Regions from separate parts of the Homo sapiens genome. Here region 1 is linked to region 2. Evidence: promoter capture Hi-C in human tissues and cell types (Jung and others, 2019). All regions are on one chromosome and are shown on one strand. The core of a region is centred on a gene start or on the middle of the fragment in contact, and the rest is flanking DNA. Distances in the headings are between cores, read along the strand shown. Region 1 holds the start of AGO4 (argonaute RISC component 4). Region 2 holds the start of KIAA0319L (KIAA0319 like).

Region 1 (4,802 bases), core at 1,640-4,139, 250 kb after region 2:
TGGTTTTTCTTTTTTTTTTCTTTTTTTTTTTGAGACGGAGTCTCGCTCTGTCGCCCAGGCTGGAGTGCAGTGGCCTGATCTCAGCTCACTGCAAGCTCCGCCTCCCAGGTTCACGCCATTCTCCCGCCTCAGTCTCCAGAGTAGCTGGGACTACAGGCGCCCGCCACCACACCCGGCTAATTTTTTGTATTTGTAGTAGAGACGGGGTTTCACTGTGTTAGACAGGATGGTCTCGATCTCCTGACCTCATGATCCGCCTGCCTCGGCCTCCCAAAGTGCTGGGATTACAGGCGTGAGCCACCGCGCCCGGCCAACTCTAGTTGGTTTTTCTTTTCTTAGCTGTGCAGCAGTCTGATCGTTTAGTAAATACTTTCTCCCCTTTGAACATTCTGTCCCCTATTACTATTTCCAGTTACTATCTGGTTTAACAGAGAGGTAGCATGATGCTGTGAAAAGAATATAGAGTATGGTGGCCGGGCATGGTGGCTCACGCCTGTAATCCCAGCAGTTTGGAAGGCCGAGGCGGGCGGATCACGAGGTCAGGAGATCGAGACCATCCTGGCTAATATGGTGAAACCCCGTCTCTACTACAAATACAAAAAATTAGCCGGGCGTGGTGGCGGGCACCTGTAGTCCCAGCTACTCGGAAGGCTGAGGCAGGAAAATGATGTGAACCCGGGAGGCGGAGCTTGCAGTGAGCCGAGATCGCGCTGCTGCACCCAAGCCTGGGCGACAGAGCGAGACTCCGGGTCAAAAAAAATAAAAGAATATAGGGTATGGTATCAGTAGACAAGAATGTAGGCACTAGATTAAAAGTCCCAGTTCCGGCCGGGCGCGGTGGCTCAAGCTCGTAATCCCAGCACTTTGGGAGGCTGAGGCGGGCGGATCACAAGGTCAGGAGATCGAGACCATTTTGGCTAACACGGTGAAACCCCGTCTCTACTAAAAATACAAAAAAAAATTTAGCCGGGCGTGGTAGCGGGCGCCTGTAGTCCCAGCTACTTGGGAGGCTGAGGCAGGAGAATGGCGTGAACCCGGGAGGCGGAGCTTGCAGTGAGCCGAGATGGCGCCACTGCACTCCAGCCTGGGCGACAGAGCGAGACTCCGTCTCAAAAAATAAAAAATAAAAAAATAAAAGTCCTAGTTCCATAGCCAATCAGGGAGAGAATTAGCCAGGACTTAAATGCAAGATTTGAACTCCAATTTTTCCCATGCTTCACTTCAGCATCATGTAATGCAAAGCCCGACTTACTTAACTTCCCTGAGCTTCGGTGTCATCATCTGTACAAATACCTTTCTTAACAATATCTACCTTACTGGTGGTTGTAAAGATTGAGTGACAATGAGAAGCCCATAGCAGAGTGCATGGCCAGGATGTGATGCTAATATTTTTTATCATTACATAAAAAAACTACCTGGCTCTGTGACAGCACATGGCAGGTGCTCAAATGAATATCCCACCACACATGCTAGGGGCCTAAATTATCCCCCACCCCAATAATTTGTATATTGAAGTCCTAACTCTAGCACCCCAGGATGTGACTGTAATTGGAAACAGGGTCTCTGAAGAGGTAATTAAATTAAAACGAGGTCACTAGAGTGAGCCCTACTCTAATAGGACTGCTGTCCTTATAAGAAGAGGAAATTTGGACACAGACGTGCACAGAGGGAAGACCACGTGAAGTCACTGGGAGAAGGCCACTATCTACCAAGTGAAGGAGATAGGCCTCAGAAGGAACCAACCCTGCCTACATCGTATCTCTGACTGCCAGCCTCCAGAATTGTGAGAAAATAAATTTCTGTTGTTTAAGCCACCCAGTCTGTGGTACTTTGTTACGTTATGCCGTAGCAAAGGAATACAACACACACACACAAACTCATCGTACCTTTTCAATTGGTGGACAAGGGGCTCCTTCCTTCTGCTGACTAGAAACTGCTTCTTGGCCTGTTGTCCAGTGTTCTCCCACTCAAAGTCCTTACTGAAAGCCCTAAAGATGCTGTGCCTGCTGGGCTGACCATGCTGCCTTGGAGGTGGTGCTGCTCCCTTGGCTTTTGTCTGCTAAGGGGAAGGCATCCAAGAAAGCAAGACCTTTCTCTCTCTCTCTCTCTTTTATTTTTATTTTTTTTTTTTCAGACAGTCTTGCTCTGTCGCCCAGGCTGGAGTGCAGTGGCCCGATTTCGGCTCACTGAAACCTCTGCCTCCCGGGTTCAAGCGATTCTCCTGCCTCAGCCTCCCAAGTAGCTGGGATTACAGGCGCCTGCCTCCACGCCCGGCTAATTTTTTGTGTTTTTAGTAGAGATGGGCTTCCGCCATGTTGGCCAGGATGGTCTCAAACTCCTGACCCCAGGTGATCCACCCGCCTCCGCCTCCCAAAGTGCTGGTATTACAGGCGTGAGCCACCACGCCCGGCCAAGACCTTTCTCTTCTAAAGTGACTGGTGATTTGCTGACCAGAGGCGCTTGTCATGGGACCAGGGAGGGAATGCATCATTCATCAGGGTCCATTCCCGTGGTGCCTTCCGGCTATACGGAGAGGGACGCGCAGTTGGGTGTGTGGTGCTGAATGAAGGGATGAAGGAGGACTGCTAGCGTCTAAGGTGACCCTAAAAGACGAGATGACAGAAGCGATCTGGGGTGGGAGGAGGGAGGAGGGAGGCGAGGTGGCTCCTGTGAATCTCAGTACACTTTCCACTCACAGAAGTGGAAAACTGAATCTGTGGGTCAGCGGAACTGGAATCCAGATCTTTTGCAGGACGCCCTGGGGGGATGGCACGTAGCCCCCAGAGCCGTTGGCCACCGGACGGCCTCCTCGGGTGGACGGGGCAGAGCGGGCCAGCGGGCGCGTGCCCGACACGTCCACCGGGCTCTGCACCCTCCGGGCGCGCGCTCGTTCCCCGACCCGCCTCGCCGCCTGCCGGGCTCTGTGGACCCCGCGCCCGGGGCCGCGCACGCCCCCTCCGCCCGCCGGGACCCTGGGTCCGCGCACCCCGCGCCCCCTTCCCTCCCGGCGGGCGCGCGCGCTGGCTCCCGCTCCCGCTCCCGTTGGCGGCGGCGGCGGCGGCGGCGGCGGGGATTGTTTTTGTTGTCGCTGAGGCCGGAAGAGCCGGAGCCGGGTCCCTGTCCCCGGGCCGGGCGCCGCCGCCGCCCCCTGCCCAGCGCCCGCGTCTCCGCGGCGCCACCCCAGCGCCAATATTCCGGAGATCAAGCGTTACGCGGCGGCGGCGGCGGCGGCGGCGGGGCCCGGAGCGGGAGGCGCCGGGGACCGGGGCGAGGCGGCCCCCGCCGCCGCCATGGAGGCGCTGGGACCCGGTGAGGAGCGAGCTCGGGTCGGGGCGGGACCCGGGACCCGGGACCCGGGGCGGGCGGCCGGGACTTTCGCTGCCCCGTCGCCTCGCCGGGTTCGGGCCGCCAGGCCTCGGGGAAGGGGACCCGAGCCCCGCAGCACGAAGCGGAGGGAGCTGACCCGGGCCTGGGGGGCGGTGACCGCGCCCCAGCCGGCCGTTGGGTGGATCCCGAGGTCCAGGGGGGAGGTTCGGGAAGGTGACCGGCGCTGCCGGGCGGAGGCCACTCTTGGCCCCACCTCGGGGAGACGATATGTGCCCGGGGTCGCGACGAGGGTAGTTTGGGCCTCAGAAGGGGGCGATCCGCTACCCAGTGCGCGCGGAGGCCTGGCCCAGACCGGGAAAAGGGCCCCGCTGCCTACTACCAGCCGGTAGTCCTGGTTTGGGGCCGCGCCCCTATTTTTCTTTGCACTGGCAGATGGTCCAGAGCCTTCAGATGAGGAAGAAGAACTTCATCCAAACACCTCTCATGATCTCTGAAGGTCAAGGGACAAAATGCCCACCCTTTCTGAAAGGCCCTGATGTCCCAAAGAACATGGTCCTGTGCCTCTGTCACTCAGTCTGTGTGTTAGTCTCAGAGTGGTCTGAGCCAGCCTTTGAGTGACACAGGAGTTGCCAGTCAGTCTGCTCCACCACAGGCTTCAATGCCCTGAGTTCTCTTCTAATTGGGTTATGAGTGGTTGTGAGGATCAAATGAAGGAGAAAGTGCTTTGGAAACTAATTTGTTGTGGATATGGATGGCCTCTGGTTATTTCTCTCTATCCAAACCAGAAGAACCATTCCAGGCTGTAACAAGTGTCCTGAGTATTGGGGCCTGGTGCTTCCACCTCAAAGCCCAACAGGTTTCTAATGCCTTGGCTAAGTAGCTCAGTGTTTAGGGGCTGTGGTGGAATTCACTTTAATATTCAAACTTTACCTACATAATGAACTTAGTCGTAGAGTGTTTCATCTTTTTAGTGCGTAGAAAATTCGAGTTGCCATTTGAGTTTGGAAACTTGGCACGTTTGTTTACTTAGCACTTGTTTGCATAGCTGAGTGATTAAGCCCCACCCTAATTTGCTTCTTAAAGTATTGTTTAAAGGCCCTCATAATCAAATTTCATATGCCTTTTAAAAATAAATTGGCTTGCCGCATTAATATTGTTTGATAAACTTCAGTGTATTATGCCAGGTTAACTTCAGATATGTCCCCTGGCTAAAGACATGCTCAGGTCTTTAGGAATGTAACAGATTCAATCTAGTAATGTAATAGTTGTATGACCCTGGGAAAATTACTCAATTCCTTTGAACTTTCATTTTCTCGTCTATAAATTGAGGGTAATAATAAGTATGTTCTGTAAGATTGTTGAGAGAATGAAATGAGAGTATATGATAAGTCTTATTGTAGAGACTAGTGCCTATAGATGCTCAACAGATGTTTCTTCCCTCCCCCTAGTAATTCATAATTGAAACAACTGTTGCA
Region 2 (5,023 bases), core at 653-3,152:
AACCACATGCATCTGAAGGACTTCATCGTTCTCATTCACTTCCATCCATTCCTATTTCTAGTTGTTTTGTAGTTGTATTTCAGGGAGCAGGGGGCAGAAAGGAGGTGTGTGGGCCAGAGACATGTTCAAGAGATTATGAAATGGAGCCTAAGTTAGAAAGTACATCCAGCAATTTCTCTAGCCTCCCAAGAGGGAACGAGTGAGTATGCATGTGTGCATGTATGGGTGTGTATGAATCTTACCCAACACATTTCTGCCTACCACAAAAGGATTTAAAACTCAAGGTGACTCAACAGCTGTCATCAATAGCCTGACAGGTGGGTGGGAGAAGCAGAAAAGAAATGAATAGCTTTTGAAAAATGGAGTAATAAACACCACTGGACTAACAAGCTGATTAGAAGTGCCATGTCTAATAAATCTTGCGTCTAAGAGAAAGGCAGAGTTAATTTCATTTGAACTCCTAACCAGTCATTCCTCTGAAACCTATAATTGCCTAAGGGCACAAATCACTGCTAGGGTCCAGTTAAAGGCTTGCTGACCAAACGCAAGAACAACAACACATCACCAAGATCCGAATAGTTTGTTACTGAATCAAAGGGTAACAACCCAGGGAGAGAACACACACCCCCACAATACTTGACAAATGAAAATCTAGAGAAGCTCACAATAGTTCTGGCATTTAGGGCGTTACAAGTACACCCAAAATAAAAGCACTCTCTGTTGCAGCAGCTGTTCAGACAGAGCAGGGGGTAATGTTTACTTAATACTTCAGGTTGATGGGGGATGTATCACAGTTCAGTCTGTCAACTACATACGTGGAACTCCATTTATGTACACAGCGATAAGATATGTTTGAACAACGATGGAGCACGTCTGAAACAATCTATTCAGTTGGTATGAGTAATCGAGAATAAAGCTCTTTTTTAAAAAGTCTCAGATATTTGGGAAAGTTACAGAACAGACTGCCATGAATAGCTTTGCTTATATTTGCAGACACTGTTTTCCAAATAGCTGGAAAAATGAACAGATTGTTCTGGGAGGTCGTCTTTCCAATTTGTTCCTAGTTTTCAGTCTGTTAATCACAGGAGAGAGCACAAGGAGAGTCAGCTAATGCTCTTCACTAACTGCAACTACTGTCAGTTGGACACAACCACTATGAGACCAGAAGCCAAAGAGTTCCTGGAATCCCGCCAGAGGTTATCAATTTTGACTTCCTTCATTTCACCTTTGTGCTCACTGCAGCCACTACAGGACCCTCTGTGGGGCATAATTTTCAAAATCGTGGATGAGGCAGGTTTCACATTATAATGGACACATCGTGCTCAACCCCATCCCCTCTTCATTCTGCACCAACTTTCTATCTCGGTGGAGAGACCAAACATCAGAGACAGCAACTAAAGACTAGGCTGCAGAGGTCGAAGGTGGAAGAAGGACGGCAGCGCCCCGAACCCCGGCTGTCTGCCTGGCTCTCAGGGGATGGAGGGAGCTGCATGACTAGGCCCAGGCCCGAGAGAAGCGGGGTTCAGCCTGGGACCCAAGCTGCGCACCTGCAAGGACAGAAGCAGCTGGCTGCCCTGGCCGAGCCAGGGGCGCCACCTCCGGACCCAACATCCGGCCAGCGCAGCCGCTGACATCGCCCGTCCCGCTTGCCCCTCCCCTGAGCCCATGGTCCTCGGCCTGGCAGCCAGCCGCCCCCGGCCACCTACCGGGGCTCAGGGCCACATAGCGGGGCCCCGGCTCTCGGCGGCCTCCGCCTCCTCCTGGTCCATGGGCTCGGGGACCCCCAACCTTCGCTCCCCTCACCCGGAGGAGGAGGAGGAAGAGGAAGAAGGTAGTGCGGGCTCCCCACCCGGACAGCTACCTCTCGCCTCAGCCTCCCTGGACAGCGACGGCGGCCGGAAACACCGCCTCCTCCCACCTCCCCGGGACCGACCCGGAAACACACTCTCCATGCTAACCAAGCCCTCCCGCCCCTCCCCCGGGAAGGGCAATGCCGGCCGCGAGACCAAGGGGGAGGAGGGGCAGTGCTGGGCGGGTAAAACTACGCACAAGCGAAGGAATCTGGGCCCCCAGCCTCTCGCCGCCCGCTCTCCAGAGGCAGTCTGCACCTTGCCTCCTTCGCTCGAGCCCCAGCCCCCAGACTCGGGCAATACCCACAAGCAAGATGGCGGCAACGGCGGCACCCCCTACTGCTTAGCACCCTGACTTGCCATTGGCCAGAGCCCGGAGTGAAGCAGCCGCGGATTCGTCAAGAGCGGTGCGGGGGTGGGGGTGGAGCTGCAGCAGCCTGGAGCCAGGAGTGGGCAACGCGGCGTGAGCAGCGGCCCGAGGCTCCCGGAGCATCGCGCTGGGAGAAGACTTCGCCGCTCGGGGCCGCAGCCTGGTGAGCTCAGCCCCCTTCGGGCCCTCCCCTGCATCCCAGCCGGGGCCTCTCCGAGCCGGCGCTGATCGATGCCGACACACCCCGGGGACCCTATCGCGACTCCATCGCGCCATATCGCGACACCATCGTGCCCTGTCGAGACTCCATTTTGTCACAGCCCTTTTCAATATATATCTTTTTTTTTTTTAATTTGCCCTGTCATCTTTGGGGGCTGTCTCCCATGTCGTGATTTTGACGTGATCTCTCCGTGACATCACCGCGCCATCGTGAAGTGTGATCTCATCGCCGCCCTGTCGTGACTTCATCAATGTCGTGTTGTGACCTGGCTGCGGCGGGACAGGTGGTGACCGCCAGGAACCCTCCTCCCCTTCTCATCTCCCCATCTCAGCAGCCCTGCTTCGATTATCCGGCTTTTGGATTCTCCGTTGTCCTGGGAACTATCCGGGACCCCCTCTTGCTTCTCCAGCCCCTGCCGGCATCCACAGGCTGGTAGCGGGACGGGGAGGGCGAGAAGAGGGAGCGCAAGGGGTTAATTCTGCTGCTGCCGCCGCCGCTGCTGCTGCTGCTGCAGCCTCTACCCGAGGGAGGGAAAGGAGAGGAGGCAAGGAGCCTGCGGGGGCGACTGAGAGCCCTGGCTGGAGGGGTGGGGTCCCCAAAGGGGCCTCCAAGCCTTCCCTGTTGAGCGTCTTGTATTCTCACTTCTGAAGCGTATCTCTGCCTCTGAAGAAGGGAGGGGAAAGGAAGCCTGGGGTGTCCTTTTCTCCCATGTCAGCCTGAGTCCGGATAATCGAACTTCACCCATGTATGTCTCCATTTCTCCCTGTCTGTCCTCACCACTCACTCCCTCTGTGTCCCTGTGGAGGGAGATAAAACCCAGCCTCCGGTGCCAGGGGGACAGCTGAGCAGTGGGGCCAGCTCCCGCCCACCCCCAGGAGACTGGTGAGGAGAGCTGTCCGGCTGAGCAGCAGCATGCATGGTCCTTCTTTCCCGCTTTCTGGAGGTGACCTTGGACCAGGGTCCCTTCTTTATCCCTAAGGATTTGCAGATCCAGCCCCTTAAAGGGGCTTCTGGGGGGAGGTCAGTCCTGAGGAGTCCACCCCTCCAGATTCTCTCCTCCCCTCCCTCTGTGCTAATCCCTCCCTCCCTCCATCCTCCACTCTCACCCCCACCCCACCCCCGTCCCTCCTCTGCAGAGGGATGCTCAGTCCCTCTTGTGTTCACAGTTGGGCAAGGCGAGCATCATGGCCTCGGATTGCGAGCCAGCTCTGAACCAGGCAGAGGGCCGAAACCCCACCCTGGAGCGCTACCTGGGAGCCCTCCGTGAGGCCAAGAATGACAGCGAGCAGTTTGCAGCCCTGCTGCTAGTAAGGAACTGGCTGAAAATTGGGAGGTGGGAAGGGCTGGGTGGTTGGGCCCCCAAGGAATGGGGTCAGTGAGTCCCCAAGGATATGTACGTAGTGCTAGCAACCCTGGAGGCACCAACGAAGGCCCAAGACCCCTACCTTTGTGCTCTTTTTTGCTCCCCCTGAGAATGGGGGCAAAGAGGAGAATGGGACTGAATAAGGCTGTGGCACTAGGGGCTGCCTGGGTCTGTTTTCTGGGGCGTCCCAGAGCAGATGGAAGCTGACTCATAGGGTAACAGCAGCAGGTAGTAACTAGTGCAGAGTACTTGAGGGCTGGGGATGGTTGTTCTGGGCCTGGAGAGAGTAGCAGGGCTGGAAGTGGCTGGGGAGGGGTCCTAGGGGAAGGCCAGGATGGCAGTAGGTAGGTTAAGGAATGGGAGCTAGTTTGGGGCTTAGCCTTTTTGGAGGAACCCAAGCTGGGGACAGCAGAGCAGAAGCTGCAGTGCTAGGAAGGGGGGGTTGTGTGTGGGGGGTGAAGGGAGGAGGGAGTACAGCCGCTGCTTGTTTGCCATGGCAACAAGGAGAAGGCTCTGGAGTCAAGGGCTCACACTGCAGCAGAGGAGGTGTTTAGGTGAAATGTAAGGGGAAATGTTTTGACAGGCGGAGCGGCGAGACACAGGAGCCATTTCCCCTGAGAAGGTGGCAGAAATGGATCAGGGACTTCTCTGGAGGGAGCAATTAAGGAAGGACTTTAAATCCTTGGGAGATCTTAAAACATTGAGTTCTAAGCCCCTTCCATCCCAGGTTGTGGGCATTTAGACATCAGGAAGAACTTCTCAACTGGCCAGGTGTTGAAATGCTCAAATGAATGGTTGAGGAAGACTAGACCTCACTTCCATGGGACAGTCACAGATGAGAGGGATCCCAGAGGTCACATTTATCTGCCTCTAAGGAGAAAAAAGGAGCTGGATGAAATGACCTCAGATGAGTCCTGTTGCATAACCTCATCTTGCTAGTCCTCAGTGCCCCAGGATGCAGGAGAGGGACAGTCTTTCCCACTTCTTCCTTTCATCCTGATGATAGCACATACCCCCTATAGGTGACCAAGGCAGTCAAAGCAGGTGACATAGATGCCAAAACTCGGCGGCGGATCTTCGATGCTGTCGGCTTCACCTTCCCCAATCGTCTCCTGACCACCAAGGAGGCGCCGGATGGCTGCCCTGACCATGTTCTGCGGGCTTTGGGTGTGGCCCTGCTGGCCTGCTTCTGCAGTGACCCTGAACTGGCCGCCCATCCC

What was found. Contacts are between HindIII fragments. The study calls those that stand out against the background at their distance.
Region 1: the fragment with the promoter of AGO4 here is called in contact with the fragment with the promoter of KIAA0319L in region 2 in 2 of the 25 tissues and cell types used here (adrenal gland and mesenchymal stem cells).

The regions. Positions count from the first base shown.
Region 1 is chr1:35,805,127-35,809,928 of GRCh38, forward strand. It overlaps AGO4 (argonaute RISC component 4), which reads left to right and starts at 2,890. Exons shown (of 18, transcript NM_017629.4): 1 at 2,890-3,309. The coding sequence starts at 3,291. It overlaps CLSPN-DT (CLSPN divergent transcript), which reads left to right. Exons shown (of 3, transcript NR_199050.1): 3 at 1,619-1,814. RefSeq lists enhancers at 2,064-2,563, 3,663-3,942 and silencers at 2,773-2,982, 3,263-3,512. The HindIII fragment of the contact is 21,017 bases long and covers 1-4,802 here.
Region 2 is chr1:35,555,501-35,560,523 of GRCh38, forward strand. KIAA0319L (KIAA0319 like) reads right to left here and starts at 1,903. Exons shown (of 21, transcript NM_024874.5): 1 at 1,707-1,903. It overlaps NCDN (neurochondrin), which reads left to right and starts at 2,299. Exons shown (of 7, transcript NM_014284.3): 1 at 2,299-2,723; 2 at 3,607-3,747; 3 at 4,826-5,023. The coding sequence starts at 2,691. RefSeq lists enhancers at 1-532, 1,333-2,060, 2,061-2,787, 2,077-2,136, 3,515-4,240 and 1 more and silencers at 1,597-1,696, 1,707-1,846, 2,918-3,127. The HindIII fragment of the contact is 15,948 bases long and covers 1-5,023 here.